Linked DNA regions of Homo sapiens: all the other regions are linked to region 1. Evidence: promoter capture Hi-C in 16 types of primary human blood cells and fetal thymus (Javierre and others, 2016). All regions are on one chromosome and are shown on one strand. The core of a region is centred on a gene start or on the middle of the fragment in contact, and the rest is flanking DNA. Distances in the headings are between cores, read along the strand shown. Region 1 holds the start of OR10P1 (olfactory receptor family 10 subfamily P member 1). Region 2 has its middle 32 kb from the start of OR9K2. Region 3 has its middle 19 kb from the start of OR10A7.

The links. The method cuts DNA at HindIII sites, captures the fragments that hold promoters and counts their contacts. A CHiCAGO score of 5 or more calls a contact.
Region 2: a contact is called between a fragment that was not itself captured here and the fragment with the promoter of OR10P1 in region 1, in 4 of 17 cell types (M1 macrophages, naive B cells, M2 macrophages and 1 more). The highest score is 7.1, in M1 macrophages.
Region 3: a fragment that was not itself captured here is called in contact with the fragment with the promoter of OR10P1 in region 1 in 2 of 17 cell types (endothelial precursors and naive B cells); the score reaches 5.3 in endothelial precursors.

The regions. Positions count from the first base shown.
Region 1 is chr12:55,634,898-55,638,471 of GRCh38, forward strand. OR10P1 (olfactory receptor family 10 subfamily P member 1) reads left to right here and starts at 1,995. Exons shown (of 1, transcript NM_206899.1): 1 at 1,995-2,936. The coding sequence starts at 1,995. The coding sequence ends at 2,936. RefSeq lists an enhancer at 1,832-2,333. The HindIII fragment of the contact is 13,599 bases long and covers 1-3,574 here.
Region 2 is chr12:55,156,946-55,160,519 of GRCh38, forward strand. It overlaps the pseudogene OR9R1P. Among named protein-coding and RNA genes, the nearest start is that of OR9K2, 32 kb to the left of the region's middle. The HindIII fragment of the contact is 1,608 bases long and covers 717-2,324 here.
Region 3 is chr12:55,200,092-55,203,665 of GRCh38, forward strand. No RefSeq gene overlaps it. Among named protein-coding and RNA genes, the nearest start is that of OR10A7, 19 kb to the right of the region's middle. The HindIII fragment of the contact is 2,665 bases long and covers 438-3,102 here.

The DNA of each region.
Region 1 (3,574 bases), core at 745-3,244:
AGGACTTCTGAAAGTCCAGTCCAGTTTCCTGTCTTTGTCAAACTAGCTGCCTAAATTTAGGCAAATCACTTAATTGTTCTATTTATCAGTTCCTCTGTCTTTATAACTGAGATTCGTTCACTCATCTAATAAATGTTTAGCGAACACTCGACATGGTCCAAGTACTGAGCTTGTTTTTCTGGTGATTAACCTCTTTTTTTTTTTTTTTTTTTTTTTTGAGGCAGAGTCTCACTCTGTCGCCCAGGCTGGAGTGCAGTGGCACGATCTCGGCTCACTGCAAGCTCCACCTTCTGAGTTCACGTCATTCTACTGCCTCAGCCTCCTGAGTAGCTGGGACTACAGGCGCCCACCACCACGCCCAGCTTATTTTTTGTATTTTTAGTAGAGACGGGGTTTCACCGCGTTAGCCAAGATGGTCTCGATCTCCTGACCTCGTGATCCACCCACCTCAGCCTCCCAAAGTGCTGGGATTACAGGCGTGAGCCACTGCGCCTGGCCTTGGTTTTTTTTTTTTTCTTTTTTTTTTTTTTTTTTTTTTTTTGACTGGTGATTAACCTCCAAGGCAGTTGATAACTTGGTGGTTAAGATCACAGGCTCTGGGGTTAGGCAGACCTGGATTTGAACCCAAACTCTGTCACTTACAAAATGTGTGACATTGAGAAAGTTACTTAACACTGTCTGGGCTTCCCTCTCCTTATCTGTAAAATGGAGAAAATGAAGGTTTCTATGTCGTAGTGTAATTAGGAAGATCCAATGATTTAATGAATGTTTAGCCCTTAGCATGGTGCCTGGCAGGAACCAAGCACTTGGGAAACATTAGCAGCTGCTAAAATAGGTAACTGCCTCCCCACCTCCCCACCACGTCCTGCAGGATCTCACAGTGGAGTAATAAGTGCTAGGACAAAAGGACAAGCAACATCTCATGAAAGCAGAGATAAAAGTGCCTTCCTCAAATACTCAAGGGCTCTCTGGTGCAAGAGGAGTTAAATATTGTATGAAATACTAAGCATTTAGCCAAGACCAATACAGTAAAGTCTTTTCCTACAGGCAGAAGAGGCCATAGCTAGAAAGGGCTACCTCAATAGGTGGTGAGTTCCCCATCACTGCAGATGTTCAAACAGACTCTGCACAGCACCCTTCTAAAATGTTGAAGATAAGATCCAAGTACTGTCATATGGAAATATATGTTCCTAAATGTCACTTTTAATCTTGAAATGCCATGGATAATTATTTCTGAGCCTGAGGATCACAGAAAGCTGCCACCGAGATAGCGAAACTTGAGTGAAGGCTTGAAGTGTGATGGGATTTTAATATGAAGAATAGAAATATCCTCTGAAAGGAGACACTATGGCAATGCATGGAGGCCTGACAGAACAGGGTGTGCTGGGACAGAACAGCTAGTGTAGCTGATCACAGGGCCCCAGATAAGAGGAGAACAGAGAAATCAGGGAAGGTGTCAGAATCCCAATGATACCATTGGGCAGTATTATCACAAATAGTCATATCACTGTGTGACACTCTTAACCCACAGCTCACTATGGTGAACATTAGACACCAGTTCGGGACAGTCCCTGGTGCTACCCAGTTTCTTTTGTGCCTCAGCATCCATCTAGAGAGTACAAAGGGGCCTAGGTCATAGCAGCTGCTTCACCCCTCACTCTGGAGAGAGATCCAAAGATCAGAGCTAGAGTCTTTACATATGAGAGTCAGGCCCCAGACACAGGACGAGAGCCCAGGAAACAGTGAGAAAGGCGTCGAATTTGGAGTCAAGAGACCTGGATTCAAGTTCCAGGCCTGCCACTTTCTAGATATTACCTCAGACACATTATTTAATCTCTCTGAGACCCATGGCTCATTCAGAGAAAGGTATTAATTCTCTCACTTGATTTTGAGAGGAACTGTGTGGCAAGTGCTTTACCAAATTACAGAAATGTTGCTTGTTATTTCTAAATAACTTCTCTTCTTGGCTGTGCCTCAGCTTCTGGCCTGGAGTGATGGCTGGGGAAAACCATACTACACTGCCTGAATTCCTCCTTCTGGGATTCTCTGACCTCAAGGCCCTGCAGGGCCCCCTGTTCTGGGTGGTGCTTCTGGTCTACCTGGTCACCTTGCTGGGTAACTCCCTGATCATCCTCCTCACACAGGTCAGCCCTGCCCTGCACTCCCCCATGTACTTCTTCCTGCGCCAACTCTCAGTGGTGGAGCTCTTCTACACCACTGACATCGTGCCCAGGACCCTGGCCAATCTGGGCTCCCCGCATCCCCAGGCCATCTCTTTCCAGGGCTGTGCAGCCCAGATGTACGTCTTCATTGTCCTGGGCATCTCGGAGTGCTGCCTGCTCACGGCCATGGCCTATGACCGATATGTTGCCATCTGCCAGCCCCTACGCTATTCCACCCTCTTGAGCCCACGGGCCTGCATGGCCATGGTGGGTACCTCCTGGCTCACAGGCATCATCACGGCCACCACCCATGCCTCCCTCATCTTCTCTCTACCTTTTCGCAGCCACCCGATCATCCCGCACTTTCTCTGTGACATCCTGCCAGTACTGAGGCTGGCAAGTGCTGGGAAGCACAGGAGCGAGATCTCCGTGATGACAGCCACCATAGTCTTCATTATGATCCCCTTCTCTCTGATTGTCACCTCTTACATCCGCATCCTGGGTGCCATCCTAGCAATGGCCTCCACCCAGAGCCGCCGCAAGGTCTTCTCCACCTGCTCCTCCCATCTGCTCGTGGTCTCTCTCTTCTTTGGAACAGCCAGCATCACCTACATCCGGCCGCAGGCAGGCTCCTCTGTTACCACAGACCGCGTCCTCAGTCTCTTCTACACAGTCATCACACCCATGCTCAACCCCATCATCTACACCCTTCGGAACAAGGACGTGAGGAGGGCCCTGCGACACTTGGTGAAGAGGCAGCGCCCCTCACCCTGAAGGGACTCGGATGTCTGCTCACTCACTCAGTGCTCATCCTCCCACTCTTCAGGGACTGGATTTAAACCCCACTCTCACAGAAATCATGCAGCACCTCAAAGGAAAAGGCTTCCTGGAAGAAAGTGCTGAAATTAAAACAGAGATAAATCTACATATTGCCTCTTATCCCAGAGTCCACACTCACTATCAGAGCATGGGTTATTAGGTCAAGGTAGAATGAAAGTGATTGCTGCCCTAGGGAAAGGACATTTATTTAGCATCTTCTAGATTGTTCTGGATCCCTGAGCACAGTGATTGCCATGGCTGCACCGGTAGCCAGAGGTCCATGTCAGTCATGAAAGCAGGTGTCTGTGAACTTGACATCCAACTAAGTGGCCCACCCAAAGCCTGTGGAGGAGTTTACCTAGCCCCTCTGTTACATTTTCTTCCACCACCTGTGTCTGAGCTTTCCTCTACTCAGTGGAACATCTGTTCTCCCCTTGGCCTTCAGGAAGAGGGGCATCTGAGGGTTCCAGTCATAAGGCTCTCTCCTTCCCAAGATACCAGCACAAAAGGGAAGATGGTCAGATGGTATCAAAAAGGACCAAGTTAAACATCAGGAAAAGTTATCTCCCAGGACAGCCTATACATGTCTCCCA
Region 2 (3,574 bases), core at 271-2,770, 480 kb before region 1:
GGGAGAACCACTACTCTCTTCAAAGCTGTCAGAGAGGTACATTTAAGTCTGCAGAGGTTACTGCTGTCTTTTTGTTTGTCTGCGCCCTGCCCTGAGAGGTGGAGCCTACAGAAGCAGGCAGGCCTCCTTGAGCTGTGGTGGGCTCCACCCAGTTCGAGCTTCCAGGCTGCTTTGTTTACCTAATCAAACAACTAACTTGGCAATGGTGGGCGCCCCTCCCACAGCCTGGCTGCCACCTTGCAGTTTGATCTGGGACTGCTGTGCTAGCAATGAGTGAGACTCTGTGGGCGTAGGACCCTCCAAGCCATGTGCGGGATATAATCTCCTGGTGTGCCATTTTTTAAGCCTGTTGGAAAAGCACAGTATTAGGGTGGGAGTGACCCAATTCTCCAGGTGCCATCTGTCACCCCTTTCTTTGACTAGGAAAGGGAATTCCCTGACCCCTTTCGCTTCCCAGGTGAGGCGATACATCGCCCTGCTTCGGCTCACGCATGGTGCGCTGCACCCACTGTCCTGCACCTACTGTCTGGCACTCCCCTGTGAGATGAACCCAGTACCTCAGTTGGAAATGCAGAAATCACCCCTCTTCTGCGTTGCTCACGCTGGGAGCTGTAGACCGGAGCTGTTCCTATTCCGCCATCTTGGCTCCTCAATTTTATGAAAATTTCTAAATAAAACTATGTAACTTCAAATATATTAAGTTTCTAGACAGAAAAAGCTTCTCTTTTGCTAATTCAGAAATTAAATGTAGTAATAAAACCATTGATTTATAATATAAAATTTATTTTTTCCACTTTAATTTAATGTTTTAGATATCTTAAAAATTATTAATGTTTTATCTCTGTGCCTCTTTAGTATTTACTATTAAGCATTAATAGTTAGAAAAATACAAAAAACAGAACCCATGCAATACAGAATTTCCACCCCCTCCCCCCACACTTATTTGCATTATTGTCTTGTGCTTTGTTAACAATATATAGAGGGGAAAACATTTCTTGTTGGGGAAGTTAATCTTATACCTAACCATAGTGTTCCTATATAAACAAAATAATTCATATGTCTATGGCAGTAAAAAGAAAAGGCATGCTGCAGTTTGGGTGCCAGAAAAGGGAGCCACCAGCATTCAGACACTAATAGTAAATGAAGGACCTGGAAGCTGAACAATATGTGGTTAATGTAGGGGATAAGAGTCTGATTTATTATTTTGAATGACATTCTCAAGACTAGTGGTTCATTCTACCTCATTAAACTATAACCCCATGTTTCCTAATGTCTTCTATGTAGCAGAATGTTTTAAGAACCAAATTAACTGCATTAATTATCTTGTAGTGGGGAAAGGAATTGACCTATGTTTTCACTCAGTTTTCCATTCTTAGAGCACAAGAAACTTTGTGTTTGTTTTTTTATTTATTTCACTGACGTGTATGTTTTTAAGATGTTTGTGTCATTATAAATATTGCTTTTCACACTCAATTTTGTGTAATCTTCACAGGTGCCTCCCATTTGGCAGAGGAGGACTTCTGAGGTATCAAAAGTGTAGATGGTTATCTTAGATTCTTTCATACTGAAAGATGTAAAATTTGGATGCAGCCCATATGACTCCAAAGCTCTTCACAAACAGCATAAAATGACTGATAATTTACTGCTGGAAATATCCCGTGCCCATTCAAATTTCTCACATAATACTAAAACTAAATAGACGGGAAAAACCTAAATAACCTTATTTTGATTTTACTGTGGTTGCTTCTAAATGTAAAACTATTCTATCAGATGCACTGCCAAGAAAACTCCAATTTGTATCAGCGTTTTTTTGTCTGTTTTTTCCCGTTGGCAACTTCAGGGACCAAAAGTTGACCAGGCTTCATTATAATCCACTCATTTTTCTCAGATAGGTCTTGGCTATGAAGAGCGAACTGAACAGGAATTACTCAGAGGTGACAGAGTTTATTCTGCTGGGATTCAGAACATCGCCAGAAGCACAGATTCTCTTATTCTTCCTGTTCTTGCTTATCTACATGGTCATTGTGTTGAGAAATCTCAGCATGTTAGTTGTCATTGAAATAGACTCCAGACTTCACACACCTGTGTATTTCTTTCTCAGAAATTTGTCCTATTTGGATCTCCGCTACTCCACAGTTATTGCTTCCAAAACTGACTACTTTATTTTCCAAGGAAAAGAAAATTTCTTACAATGGTTGAGCAACACAGTTGTTTTTCTTTGCTCTCTTTGTTGGGACTGAAGGTTTTTTTCTGGATATGATGGCATATGATCGCTTCTCAGCTATTTGTTCACCTTTCTTCTATACTGTATGTATGTCTCAGCAAGCTTGTGTTTGTTTGGTGGTTGGCTCCTCTATCTGTGGATGCATCAACTCCATGATACAAACAGGTTTTACCTTCAGTTTGCATTTCTGTGGAGAAAACAGATTAGAGCACTTTTTCTGTGATGTCTCAGTCATGATCAAGATCTCATGTATTGACATCCTTGTGAATGAGGTAGTACTGTTTATTCTCTCTGCTCTCATCACCACCACCACAACTGTCATTCTGGCTTCCTATGTGCATATCCTCTCCACTGTCCTGAAGATTCTCTCAACCCACGGCAGAAGGAAGACTTTCTCCACTTGCAGCTCTCACATCACTGTGGTGAGTTTATTCTATGGAACTGTATTCTTCATGTATGCCCAACCTGGGGCCATCTCCAAAGAGCAAGGTTATAGTTGTATTCTAAACTCTTGTCATCCCTATGTTAAATATCTGATTTATAGTCTAAGAAATAGGTGCAAAATGCTTTGAAAAGGACATTGATAAGAAAAATATCTTTTCATTGGCCTCTAGCCATCTATAAAACTATAGAAGCAACTAAGAGCAATACTATCAGTAATTTATTATAGAATAATTTCAAAGAAAAACATCTGAAAGTATGGAGATGAAAGTTTATTTTCGTGTTTTGACCATCAACAGATCCTTTTAAAAATGAATTAAAGGCCAGGCGTGGTGGCTCAAACCTGTAATCCCAGCACTTAGGGAGACCGAGGGGGGTGGATCATGAGGTCAGGAGATCGAGACCATCCTGGCCAACATGGTGAAACCGCGTCTCTACTAAAAATACAAAAAATTAGCTGGGCGTGGTGGCACGCACCTGCAGTCCCAGCTACTCGGGAGGCTGAGGCAGGAGAATCACTTGAACCCAGGAGGCGGAGGTTGCAGTGAGCCGAGATCGTGGCACTGCACTCCACCCTGGCAACAGAGCGAGACTCCATCTCAAAAAAAAAAAACAAAACAAAAGGAACTAAAAATCAATATAGATTTTTCATATTTCAACATAATTATTTTATGGTGTGCTGTCTAGGTATTCCATAGTTTGTTATTCTTGCTTCATTGTCTTAGTTGTACTCAAAACTGCAACTGAAATACAGTATTCACAAATTAATACATAAATACACGTTAAGTTTATTAATATATCTATATATGTATGAATATCTATATACTAATCTATTGGAGAGGGAAAAAGAGAGACACTACTTAACGTTCTTCAATATTTGTTTAATCTAGATCATAATCAAGTTGGCTA
Region 3 (3,574 bases), core at 520-3,019, 440 kb before region 1:
ACTGCAGAAAAAAAGTGGCATTTCAGACAGGCATGCAAGCACCTCCAGGGAGTTTATCTCACTGGAGCAATACAGAAAAGGGGCTTAAAAAGATGCTCTCTCTGTGTTTTCCCAGAAGAAATAGAGGTCACACATAGAGAACAAAAAGTTCTAACTCTACTTCCCAAGAACTCCACCCTAAACCTAGTAGTTCTGGAAGCAGAAGAGATTAGGCATATGCAAGTCTCCCTTGATCACAGAACTGAGAGGTGATACTAAATGGGTATCCAAACACTTCCAGATGCACCATTCCCTTGGTACAGTGCAGAAAGGGGGCAGGAATGTGCACTCTCACATTCTTTCAATAAGGAGCATATAACACACACTCCCAGTGGCTACCTGATGGCCTGGTTTCTAATGAACTTATATTGAGAAGCTAACAGGACAAAGAAACAACAAGCTTTTGGTTGCCAAAGCAAGAGCGAGGTACTTTCTGAGACCTCTTCTCAGCTTACTCCAGAGATAAATCCAGGCCTATTCATTCTTTCTGGAAGAAATTTAGCTATGTATCAAATGCCACAACTTCCATAGCTCCCACCTAAGGAACTGTCTCCTTAGAGACCTAGCTTTGAAATCAAGGGGGCTTTGTGAATCTGAGTGACCCAAGACCACAGAAAACAAACATGTAGACATATAGTAGGACCATTTCCAGAAGCTCTCTGTCTAGGATAAGAAAATGTAGCCTGCATGTGAGAACAGGCATTTGCTGCAGATCCCCTTCCTAGTTTAGTGCAGAGAGACTACAAGATAAATGCCCACCATCATCTTCACCATGAAAATAGAAAGAACTAGAACACATATCAAAAACCTCAACCTTTTCAGCTTCATCCTAAGAGCTTAGCTCTTATACTGATAACAGAGTACTGACAAAATGTGACATGCCCTAAGCTCCAGAGGGCCACCAAAAACCAAGATAGCAATCTGGACAAACACACAGATTTTGGAGGCATCTTAAAATCTTTGGCCAGTTGAATTGGCAAAACCTTCTCATACACAAGACCAGTCTAACAAGATGAAGAGAGGTAATCTTATCTAATTTGCAGAAACCAAAAGAGGGAATCAAGGAAAATAAAGAAAGAGGGGATTATATTCCAGACAAAAGTACAAGTAACCATCCAGAAACAGAAACAAATACAAAGAACTAGAAAAGCAATAGCAAACCAAACTAAAAATAAGGCAAAGAAAAGGAATAATAAAGATCAGATCATAAATAAATAAAATTGAAACAAAATAATACTAAATATCAACAAAACAAAACTTTTTTTTGAAAAGTTAAACAAATTTGACAAACCTTTAACCAGACTAAGAAAAAAAGAGAGAAGACACAAATAAATAAAAACAGAGATAAAAAAGTAGCTATTACAACTGATAGCACAAAAATTCAAGGGCTCATCAGTGGCTACTCTGAGGAACTATATGCCAATATGTTGGAAAATCTAGTAGAAACAGATAAAGCACTAGATACATACAACCTACCAACATTGAGCCATGAAGAAATCCGGAACCTAAACAGATCAATAACAAGTAACAGGATTGAAGCTGTAACAAAAAGTCTCCCAGCAAAGAAAAGCCTGGTGCCTGATGACTTCATTGCTGAATTCTACCAAACATTTAAAGAAGCAATATTCCCAACCCTATTCAAACTATTCTGAAAAATAGAGGAGGAGTGAATACTTCCAAACTTTTGCTACAAAACCAGTGTGATCCAGACAAAGCCAGACGGCTGAATGGATTAAAACCATTCAATTGCCAAAACCAGACAAAGACACAGCAAAAAATAAAACTACAGGCCAATATCTCCAACAAAAATTGATGCAAATATCCTCAGTAAAATACTAGCAAACCAAATTCAACTATAAAGATACTATTCATCGTGAATAAGTGGGATTTATCCCAGGGATGCAAGGATGATTCAACATACACAAATCAGTCAATGTTATACATTATATCAACAGAATGAAGAACAAAAAGCATATGATCATTTCAATTGATGCTGAATAAGCATTTGATACAATTTAACATCTCTGCATGACAAAAACCCTAAAAAATGGGTATAGAAGGAACGTCCTTCAGTATAATAAAAGCCATATACGACAGACCCATAATTAGTATCATACTGAATGGAGAAAAGCTGAAAGTCTTTCCTCCAAGATCTGGAGCATGACAAGGATGCCCACTGTCTCCACCATTATTTGACACAGTACTAGAAGTCCTAGAGCAATCAGTCAAGAAAAGATATAAACAGCATCCAAATTGAAAAGGAAGAAGTCAAATTATCATTGTTTACAGATGATGTGATCTTACATTTGAAAAAACTTAAAGACTCCTTCAAAAAGTATTACAAACAATAAAGAAGTTTGGTGAAGTTACAAGATACAAAAATCAACATATAAAAATCAGTTAGCATTTTAACATACCAATAACAAATAGTCTGAAAAAGAAATCAAGAAAGTAATCCCACTTATAGTAGCTACAATTAAAATATAATACCTAGGAATTAACCAAATAGGTGAAAGATCTCTACAATGAAATGATGAAACATTGATGCAAGAAACTGAAGAGGACACAAAAAAATGGAAAGATATTCTACTTTCGGGAATTGAAAGATTTAATATTGTTAATATTTCCATACTACCCAAAGCAATCTACAGATTGAATGCAATCCCTATAATTCCAATGACATTCTTCAAAAAAATTTAAAAAATCCTAAAATTTTTATGGAACCACAAAATTCTCAGTGTGGGCAAACCTATCCTAATCAAAAAGAACAAAACTGAAGGAACATTACCCGACTTCAATTTATACTACAAAGCTATAGTAACCAAAAGAGCATGGTTCTGGCATAAAAACAGACAAATAGACCAACGGAACAGAATAGAGCACCCAGAAATAAATCTATGCATCTCAGTGAACTCACTTTAAACAAAGATACCAAGAACATACATTGGGAAAAGGACAGCCTCTTCAATAAATGATGCTGGGAAAACTAGATATCCACATGTAGAAGAATGAAATAGACCCCTATCTCACATCGCATACAAAATCAAATCAAAATGGATGAAAAGCTTTAATCTAAGACCTCGAGCTATGAAACTACTACAAGAAAACATTGGGGAAACTCCCCAGGACATTGGAATGGGCAACCAAAACAAAAATGGAAAAATGTGGTCAATCACATTAAGTAGCTTATGCACAGCAAAGGATACAATCAAAAAAGTGAAGATACAACCCACAGAATGGGGAAATATTTGCAAACTGCCCATCTGACAAGAGGTTAATAACCAGAATATATAAGGGGCTCAAACAACTCTATAGAAAGAAAATCTAATAATTTGATTAAGAAATAAGCAGAAGATCTGAATAGACATTTCTGGAAAGAAGACATACAAATGACCAACAGATATGTGAAAAGGTGCTCAACATCTCTGATCATCAGAAAAATGCAAATTAAATCTGCAATGAGATATTTAATCTCACTCCACTTAAAGTGGTTCACATTCAAAAGATAGGCAATAACAAATGCTGATGAGGATAT